Regions from separate parts of the Homo sapiens genome. Here regions 1 and 3 are each linked to region 2. Evidence: promoter capture Hi-C in 16 types of primary human blood cells and fetal thymus (Javierre and others, 2016). All regions are on one chromosome and are shown on one strand. The core of a region is centred on a gene start or on the middle of the fragment in contact, and the rest is flanking DNA. Distances in the headings are between cores, read along the strand shown. Region 1 overlaps NUP214 (nucleoporin 214). Region 2 holds the start of TTF1 (transcription termination factor 1). Region 3 overlaps NUP214 (nucleoporin 214).

Region 1 (3,369 bases), core at 582-3,081, 1.2 Mb after region 2:
AACAAAGGCTGGTCTCCAGAATTGATAAAAACATGTACAAATCAATAAGACAGAGTATTCAATAATAAATGAATGAGCAAAAGATTTAATTCGGTACTCCACAAAAGAACATATCCAAATGGTTAAAACATTTTACAAAAGAGTCCTACCAGAATAGTTAAAAGAAAAAAGACCGACAATATCAAGTTTGGCAAAGATGTGGAACAACTGTAACACTCATTTACTGATGATAAAGTACAACCACTTAGTAAAACCGCCTGGCAGAGTCTATGAAAGCTGAGCATATGGACAGACTATGAGCCAACAATGCCACTCCTAGCTATGTAACCAAATGAAAAGTACACATGTGCTCCGAGAGACACACACGGGAATATTCAGAACCTTTTCTGTAATAGCTATAAACTGAAAGCAGCACATGTCCAACAGGAAAATGAATAAACAAATACAGCATATTCATACAATAGAATCCTATACAGAGCAACTAAAATAACAGCTAGAGGCAACAACACGGATGGATCTTACAAGCCTGATGTGGAACAAGAGAAGCCTGTCCAGAGACTAAGTGAATGGATTTATGTGGTATGCAAAAACAGGCAAAACCAAATCATAGTGTTTTGGGAGGTATGCTTACATAGTAAAGCTCTGAAGGAAAACAAAGAAAAGGCGACTAAAGAGAATGACAACTTACACAATGCAGAATCCTGGATTGGATCCTAGATCCAATCAACGTGTAGGGGTAAGTGGGACAGCCGGCAAAATTTGAGTATCAACTGTATATGAGATAACTGTATACGTTAAATTTCCTGAACCTGCAAACTGTATTATGGTGTGTAAGAGAGCACCTTTGTTCTTGGGAGGACACATGCTGAAATATTTAGGAATAAGGGGCGTTGTCTTCAGCTTATTCTCAGATAGTTCAGCAACAATTGTGGCAAACAGTAGTAAACATATGGGTGAGGGGTAAGTGGGTGCTTACTGTACTCGCAATTGGAAGTTTCAATTTTTTCAAAATAATAAATTAAAAATAACAAAAAATGTCAAATTAAAAAAAAAAGGCAAAGGCAAAACTCTCACATAAGCCCATATAATCGTGCCTTAGGGGAAGAAGGAAAACTGGGGTATGCAAGAGGGCTTCTAAAAAACGGCAATATTCTGTTTCTTGACCTGGGTAGAGGCTACAGGGATATACGTTTTTGTTTTGTGCACTTAATGTGTGTTGTTTTTCACAATTTTAAAAATTCAAAGTGTTTACATGCTGAGTTATTCTTCCCAGCATGCCCACTAACATTAAATGAGTATCATGTGCAGTTATCTGCTTAATGTCTGAATTCCTCCTCTTAAATGAAAAGCTTCATGTGGGCAGAGACCATGTTTCTCTTATTTACCACTGATTGGAACAAACTAGGCAATCATATTTATTGAATGAATGAATAAGTAAATTACATAAATCTCACTTGTAAGGACTCTATCTAAATATATAATCTGATGTGGGCTAAAGATTTGTGAACAAAGACGTTCTGAGAAAATTTTGGCAACAAGATTAGCAACAGGCATTATGGCCTTCTAATACAAGGAAATATTGTGCTGTCTTTATAAGGCATGTGTTCAAAGAATATTTAAACACAGAAGGCAGAGGAAAAGGTTAAGATTTTAAGTTTAAATCTTTTTTCCAATTTTTAAAATTTGGTAAAATGTAACATAAAATTTACCATCTTAAGTGTTTTAAAGTACACAGTTCATTGGTATTAAGTACATTCACATTGTTGTGTAATCATCACCACCATCCATCTCCAGAACTATTTTCCCTGTGCAAAACTGAAACTCTATACCCATTAAATAATAACTCCCCATGACCCCCCACCTCAGTCCTTCAGGCAACCCCTATTCTTGTTTCCATCTCTATGAATTTGATGTCTCTAGATACTTCATATAAGTGGAATCATACAGTATTTGTCTATTTGAGGACACTTAGCACAATGTCCTCAAGGTTCACTTATATTGTAACATGTGTCAAAAATTCCTTTTTAAAGACTGAATAATATTCCATTGTATAGACAGACATTTTGTTTATCCATTCATTCATTAACAGACACACTGTTTCCACCTCTTGGCTATTACCAATAATGCTGTCATGAGCATGGATACAAAAGTATCTCTTTGAAACCTTATTTTCAATTATTTGGGGTATATACCCAGAAGTGAAATTGCTGGATCATCCAGTAATCACATTTTTAATTTTTTGAGGAACCACCAAACTGTTTTCTACAGTGGCTTTACCATTTCACATTCCCACCAATAGTGCACAAAGCTTCCATTTTTTCCATATCTTCACCACCAGCATTTATTTTGTTTAATAGTAAGGGCTCATGAATTTTAAATTAGAAAAAAATCAAGACACAAAACTGTTATAATCTCAATTTCATTTTAAAATAAATCAGATTTACATATGCAAAGAAAAAAGTTTGGAACTAAACCAAAATAACTAAGTGAGGCCATATCTGGGTTGAGAGAGAGTAATTTTTTAACTTTTTAATTTTTTTTAGAGATTCTGTTGCTCAGGCTGGAGTGCAGTGGCATGACCATAGCTCACTGCAGCTGCAGGCTCAAGCAACCCTCCTGCCTCAGCCACCTGAAGAGCTAAGATTACAGGTGCATGCCACCGCACTCAGCTAATATTTTTTATTCTCCTTTATACTTTCCATATTTTTCCCAATTACCTACCAAGAGAATGTATTCTTTAGGTAAAGAAAAATTATTTGAAAATTAACTTGTCTGTGACTATTATTTATCTAATTTAGCTCTATGTGAGTACAGAAAAATAAATCAGTAAGATTAAATTTCTTTCAGTTATTCTGATTACCAAAAGCATTTGTTATTGGCATAAAAAAATTTTAACTGAAAACAGAATCTCAAAGAAAAATTTGGATATGGATACTAAAACAAAGCAGTTATGCCTAAAATTGTCACAAATTTTTCTTTAAATTGAAGTTATTATCTAGGTAATGTAATGGGAAAAAAATTTATGGCTTCTTTAAGCAAGTATTTTTAAGTAAGTATTTTTAATCAACATTGCTTAATCTTATTTTTTTCTTCTTTTTTCATAAAAGAAGCCTTTTTCGGCAAGGCACAGTGGCTCATACCTGTAATCCCAGCACTCTGGGAGGCTGAGGCAGGAGGATAACTTGAACCCAGGAGTTTGAGAACAGCCTGGGCAACATGGGGAGACCTCGTCTTTTATTTTTTTCTATTATTTATTTATTTTTTAAAATGCCTTTTTCCCAGATGCAAACTTACTCAAAACCCAACACAAATCAGAAAAGTAAACCTTCTCTGGCTAAAGCAGAGGCTAGGATCCAGCTCAGCCTATCT
Region 2 (3,248 bases), core at 196-2,695:
AGCTTCCCAGGTGATTGGTGCAGTTGGAGGAGGATTGGAAACCACTATTGGAGTTTTCCTGAATCGATACTGGATGATATCTAATCTCTCCTCTAGTGCCAGCCTTTTGTGGGTTCATTCATGCATCACTAGCACCACAAGGCTCTGGGTAAGTGGGGTCACCACAGAACACGTGACACCAATGACGGACCTGGACTTCAAGGCCTTCCATATCAACAGTGGACAACACCACATTTACAGACTTCTCCAGACGGAGCTCCAACTGCACGTCCACATCCCAGAGCAGCCCTTGCATGGCAACATGAGTACATACATAGGCTCATCGTTTCTCCAACCTGCTTCCCTTCCAGACTTTCACGGAAGCATAGTTTGTGCATTTTTTAATCAAAGCCACTTGGCAGATCACATAGAAGTCAGGTGGAACAGTGAGGGGCAAGATAGTGGAGTAGTAGAAAGAGCATAGGTCTGATTTCTGGCTGGCCCATTTAAGTCACCTTGGACAAGTTACTGTAAACCCAGGTTTCTCATCCACAAGGTGGGGCTAATAATACCTCATTACAAGGATTAAGTGAGAAAACTTGTTGCCTATATCGTATATGTTCACTATCCAAAAAGGTTAAACGTTTGGTTGGTAAATATAATGGCCTCGAATTGATGGCCAGGTTAAAGCTGCCCTTTTGGCTAAGTCTCTTCAGGACTCTGTTGAAATGGGAAGACTGGGATAGATCTCCAAAGCTCCTGCTAACTCTAAACTTCTGAGACTTCATCCAAGCTTAACATCCATCAGCCTCTGCACCAGATAGCCCCTGCAGACCTCTGACTTCCTCTCCCACCCCCTCCCCTGCATTCACATGCATTCACTTAGGCTGGGCGTGTGCGACCTGTCTGTCACCCTGTGGGTTCACTGTGTGGATTCACTCTGTGCTCCAGCTGCTCTGGCCTTGTCCCAGGTCCTCCAGCAACCAAGTTCAGGACTTTTGCACTCACTTCCAGCCTGGAACACTCTTCTGCCTAGATTTTTTGCCTGCCCTTTCCATTTAGAACTCAGTTCAAATGTCACCTCCTCAGTGAGCCCTCTCTTACATCTAAAGTAGCACCCACCGTCCCCTAGTCACTCTCCATCACGTCACCCTGTTTTATTTTCCTTACAAGATAATCTGAAATTATCTTAGTTGATTTGTCATCTGTCTTCCCAAGTTGTTCCTGGAGTTCACCAAAAACTGGAATAAATGGAATGCACGCATGCATTAGTACGTCAATGGAGGGGGATTCTGTCCTACTTTCTTCGTTTCAGGAGCACTCTCTACCCCACCTGACGTCTAAAGGACCCAGAAGGAAAATGGGTAGGCAAATGTGCGCGCCTCCAAGGCCTAGCGGCAGCCGTGTTACCATGGCAGCGTGACGCCGAGGGGGCCGGAAGGCGACGCACTACTACTTCCGCTTCCTCAACAGCAGCACTTCCGGGTTGGGAGAAAGGTGGCGGCGCTTTCGGAGGGTAAGTTGAAAGCGCCTTTGTTGTTTCTGTTTTTCAAAATGCGCGCGTAAAAACTCAGCGTGGGGTGGTGGGTTTCCCCGTCTTCTGGGAGACCCGCCTTTTGGCCTGAGGTCTCCAGGCCGCGGTCTTTGCCCCAGGCCTTATCTCGGGGAAACTGAGGCTTGGGTGTTTTTTTTTTTTTTTTTTAAAGATGGAGTTTTGCTCTTGTCGCCCAGGCTGGAGTGCGGTGGCGCGATCTCGGCTCACTGCAACCTCCGCTTCCTGGGTTCAAGCGATTCTCCTGCCTCAGCCTCCCGAGTAGCTGGGATTATAGGCGCCCGCCACCAAGCCTAGCTAATTTTTGTATTTTTAGTAGAGACAGGGTTTCACCATGTTGGCCAGGCTGGTCTCGAACTCCTGACTTCAGGTGATCCACCCGCCTCGGCCTCTCAAAGTGCTGGGATGACAAGCGTGAGCCACCGCGCCCGGCCGCGGCTTGGGTCTTTGGGAGTGAGAAGATGCAGAATTCACATCTGGTTAGTTCCTCCAGTCTCAGCCCTGGAGCGCCCACCCGGGAGCAGAGCGGGGTCTCTCTCGCACCCCAAAGGCGGTGAGAGAATCCGGGACCAGGTTTGGGCACGTACCTGCAGAGCGGGAAGTGTATGTTCTGAGTAAGGGGGGATAAATGCATATCCGTTCTCAATATGTATCGAGCACTGACTGGGGAGCCATTTGGGAGCAAGATGGCCAGGATTCCAGCCCTCAAGAAGCCGATCATATTATAACTGCCAAAAGTGCAATGGGGAGCAGCTGGTTGTTGGGAAACACTGTTAACCAGAAAGATGAGACCGGCTAAGGAGTTAGAGAGGTCCTCTTGAGAAAGTGGCTTTCATACTTGGACCAGTTAAAGGGCAGAAAGGTAATGCGGAGGAAGAGCTTTCCTGATGGAATGGGCTGTTTTTGCAAAGTTCCTGAGACGAAAAGGAAGGTAGTGTATTCTAGGAACTGAAAACAGCAGGGTTTCTGAAACCTAGAGAGAAGTGAGAGGTAGAGAGGTGGGCATGGACTTACCTCTGTCCATCTCTAGGCTAGATTATGAAGAAATGAAGACTCTTGCAGGTCTGTGAGGATTTTGACTTTATCTTAAGAATAACAGGGGAACCCTAAAAAGTTTTTAGCAGGGAGAGACTATATATTTAGAAGGTTGTACTGGGCTCCAGAGACCAGAGAGCAGCCTAGGAAGTATTTACAAAAAAGAAGGAAAGGAACTGATGGAAGGGGAAATGTTATTTAAAGAAATCAAGGCCGGGCGCTGTGGCTTACGCCTGTAATCCCAGCGCTTTGAGAGGCCGAGGCAGGTGGGTCACCTGAGGTCAGGAGTTCAAGACCAGCCTGGCCAACATGGCGAAACCCCGTCTCTACTAAAAATACAAAGATTAGCCAGGCTTGGTGGCTTGCGCCTGTAATCCCAGCTACTACTCCGGAGGCTGAGGCAGGAGAATCGCTTGAACCCGGGAGGCGGAGGTTGCAGTGAGCCGAGATCGTGCCACTGCACTCCAGCCTGGGTGACAGAACGAGATTCTGTCTCCAAAAAAAGAAAAAGAAAAAAAGAAAAGAAAAGAAATCAGCCAGTGGGTGGCTCACGCCTGTAATCCCAGCACTTTGGGAGGCCGAGGCGGTTGGATCACAAGGTCAGGAGATCGAGACCATCCTGGCTAACACGGTGAAACTCCGTCTCTACTAAAAAATACAAAAAAATTAGCCTGGCGTCGTG
Region 3 (3,596 bases), core at 191-2,690, 1.3 Mb after region 2:
GGGACACAATTATGCTTAGGAGAGTTAGTACTTTCTCTTACCAAGGAAATTACTGAGAACTCGTTTTGAGAGTGAGCACCTTCTCTGGGGAGTGAAAAAGGAAGAGGAATGCAGGGAACTGTCTTTGGGATACTTATGGCCTAAAGGAAATGTAAAGTCGGTTCCACCTAAAGAGCAAAAGTCTGTAGACAATCTAAACTCCAGCATTAGATGACTGGTCAGATAAACTGTGGTGCAGTCAACAAAATGGAACACTATGCAACCCTTAGCATGAAGTGGATGTGTGCCAATTCAGTATTAACAGTAACTGTGGTGGCAGCAGCACCACCATAGCAACAACAGATAGTACAGGCAAGTAGGGAAAAAGCTGGTAGTACTTATACTCGATGGTTATCTTGGGAACTCATGGTTATCTTGGGAGGGGTTACAAGATATAAGGGATTGCTTCCCTCCAAAAGCTTACATTCTAGTGGGAAGAAAAGAACAAGATAAAGAAGTAAATAAATAAGAAATGAGTGAGCTGCCCGACCCAGATCTGGAGGAAACTGGATACCAACCTAAGAATTAGCAGTGAGCAGCCACGGGGCTTCATAGGGACTGTCAAGCAGAAGAATCACCTAACAATTTACAGTGTCACAAGATGACTTTGTGGCTGTGTAGACAGCAGTTCAGAGAGAGTTAAGGGTAGACACAGGGAGGAAAAAAGACTACAAGGGATTCATTTCCCTTCCAGGATGCATACTCTGGATTGCTTCTTTTTTTAAAATAAGGAATATTTCCTACATTTGTAACGTAAAAAAGCAAAACAAATACCTGAATATAAATCCCATAGTCAAAAAAATAAAATGCTAGCTAAGAGACCCTTCTGGACTCTATTCACTGATGAAATGCCAGTATTTTATGTTGGTTGAATTTTTGCCATTTGCAAGTATCACTCTGGGTAAAAAAATTCTACTCAGTTAACTCCTCTCAGAGTGACTCTACTTTTAGTAAATAACATCCAATATTTCTACCCAACTCACAGAAGAATCAAACTTTAGAAGTGACTTACTTTTCACTAAGGTTGACTTTGACAGCAGAGGTTGAGGGTGGGAAGGAGGGCTTCATTGCTATATTTGGAGCAGACACACTTGGCACTGGTGTGCTTTCCAGGGTAGGCTTAAAACCAGATGATCCAAAGGAGAATGAAGCAGCTGATGGAGCCACAGGAGACGCTGCAGGGGTGGGGGCTAGGGAGGCTTTAGAAGGGGGAACAAAAGAGAAGGTTGATGGGCCAGGGCCTGGGGCTGCTTTGGAGCTGTCGGAGCCACTGGAATATGAAGGGGGCTCCCCAGTGACCGTAGCAGATGACTTCAAAGATGAAGAACCAAAGGAGAACACAGTGGGGGCTCCACCAGCAGGAAGCAAAGAAAAAGTGGCAATGGGAGCAGCAGGTGATGAAGGTGGCAGAGAGGCAGGGGCTGCAGCTGCAGAAGCATCCAGTTTCTGTGGGGCTTGAGAGGAGGTTGGGGTAGTGGGAGTACTTCCTGCAGTGACAAAAAAAGGAAGGAAAATGTTAACACTGTAACAGTGGAGGTTCACATAATAGAAAGCAAGTGAAAAAGAATTTGTGGTAGAATAAAGCCAGAAATGTTACTAGTTTAAGAAGCAAAAAGAACACATGGGTACACAGTTCATGTTGGAGTTTTCAGGTCTCATGAGATAAATGAAACTGAAGGAAAACTAAGGAAAGACATTAGAATAATTGGACTTCATGGACTTCTCAGTGCTACTATGGCACACAAAACAGTTCAGTCACTGCAACATTTCATTAACAACCAGGAAAAAGTTTTAATTCAGACCTCCACCTTATTTCACTAAAAGTAATTCCAGATAAATACACATAGAAAGTCACATAAATACAGGTATCTCAAAACAAAGGAGGCAAATTGATAGATATGTTAGGTCTCAGAATCTAACACCTTGATAAATTTAGAAGTGACCAAAAAAAAAACAATCGCAAAGGGAGAAGGTTAAGATTTGTGTAAAAAATAGCTACTCAGGTACAATAACTAAATGGTAATGAACTAAAAAAAAAGATCCATAGCAAATGACAAATAAGATGTTTTCTATTTTTTAAAAAGCTCATACAAATTGAGATTTTAAAATTTCAGGACTAATAAACAGGGAAACTAACTCACATAAAGAAAACACATTCAATCTCTCTAATCAAAGAAATATAAACAAGGTACATTTTTAATTTGTCCTCTAAATTATAAGAATTTAAATATGTCTAACCCCTTATGTTTGGATGGGTAAAACAAACCTGAAACTTTTTATCACTGGTAGGTAACTAGTATTTTTTTTAAGAAAACATTTTGGCATTGTATAAAAAACTGTAAAAAACAGACCCAGTAATTTCTCTTCTAAGAATAAAGCTTACAAACATAATGCAAAAAATGAAAAAGATATTTAATGCAATCCAAATGGTTAAAAAGAAAAAAAAAAGTCAATGGAAGGCTGGGCGCAGTGGCTCATGCCTGTAATCCCAGAGCTTTGGGAGGGCAAAGCAGGAGGACCCTTTGAGTCCAGGAGTTTGAGACCAGCCTGGGGAACAAAGTGAGACCCTGTTGCTACAAAAAAAATACAAAAATCAGCCAGGTGTGATGGCTTGTGCCTGTAGTCCCAGCTACTTGGGAGGCTGAGGTGGGAGGATCGCTTGGACTTGGGAGACAGAGGCTGCAGTGAGCCAAGATCCTGCCACTACACTCCAGCCTGCACAACAGAGTGAGACCCCTGTCTCAAAAATGAATAATTTTTTTTTCTATTTTCCAAACTTTCCATAAGGTAAAAATATTAATCTTTAAATTAAATAACCAACTAAATAAGAAAAGAATTCTTTGTGTCAATATTTTCTATTTATATTAATAGGACTTGGTTGTTCCAAATTAGCTAAGATGGCAGTTTATCTTCATGGAAGACACTTTGTCTAATGCAACGTAATACTTAGATACAAGTATGAAAATACCACTTTCTGAAAACAAAAATCCAAGTAAACTGTCACATTGATGAAAGTATAATAATGCAAGCAAACCTATTCTGTTAATACTTCTTTATACAATAGATATGGAACCAGCTACAACTAACTTCTGTAAAGACATACATAGATGTTAAAACACTTTCATGCATATTAGGTAAACTGACATGAAAAATATATACCAGACCCTAAATAAATCAAAAGCATTTTTTCCACTGAAAACAGAACTGATTATTGGAAAACCATCATGCTACTACTACTTCTGATCAATACAGCATCCTTAGAACTGCAGTGTAGAAACAGGTGGAACCATTAATGTCTTCTGAACCCATGAAGTAGGCTTTAGCTAGACTTAGCTGATGGGACGGACTTTCTCCCCGCAGGGGCTCTCTTCTACACATCTGAACACAACTATAACCTCTGGACCAACTGTGAAGGAAGAGGGGAGTTTCTCTAGGAAAGGCTAACAGTAAAACTGGCCTCTGATTGTGCTCCAGCATTGAATGGGCTAGTAGCAAAGGCTCAGAAACAAACCTCGTCCCATCCCAGAGGCTCCTAATCTCACAGGCTGCTCTGCTTA

What was found. The method cuts DNA at HindIII sites, captures the fragments that hold promoters and counts their contacts. A CHiCAGO score of 5 or more calls a contact.
Region 1: a fragment that was not itself captured here is called in contact with the fragment with the promoter of TTF1 in region 2 in 1 of 17 cell types (monocytes); the score reaches 6.5 in monocytes.
Region 3: a contact is called between a fragment that was not itself captured here and the fragment with the promoter of TTF1 in region 2, in 2 of 17 cell types (M2 macrophages and monocytes). The highest score is 6.6, in M2 macrophages.

The regions. Positions count from the first base shown.
Region 1 is chr9:131,164,445-131,167,813 of GRCh38, reverse strand. The region is part of intron 21 of NUP214 (nucleoporin 214); the gene reads right to left. Among named protein-coding and RNA genes, the nearest start is that of NUP214, 41 kb to the right of the region's middle. The HindIII fragment of the contact is 959 bases long and covers 1,352-2,310 here.
Region 2 is chr9:132,405,037-132,408,284 of GRCh38, reverse strand. TTF1 (transcription termination factor 1) reads left to right here and starts at 1,445. Exons shown (of 11, transcript NM_007344.4): 1 at 1,445-1,495. The HindIII fragment of the contact is 5,870 bases long and covers 775-3,248 here.
Region 3 is chr9:131,142,210-131,145,805 of GRCh38, reverse strand. NUP214 (nucleoporin 214) reads right to left here. Exons shown (of 36, transcript NM_005085.4): 12 at 1,052-1,526. Among named protein-coding and RNA genes, the nearest start is that of NUP214, 18 kb to the right of the region's middle. RefSeq lists an enhancer at 1,078-1,579. The HindIII fragment of the contact is 1,959 bases long and covers 461-2,419 here.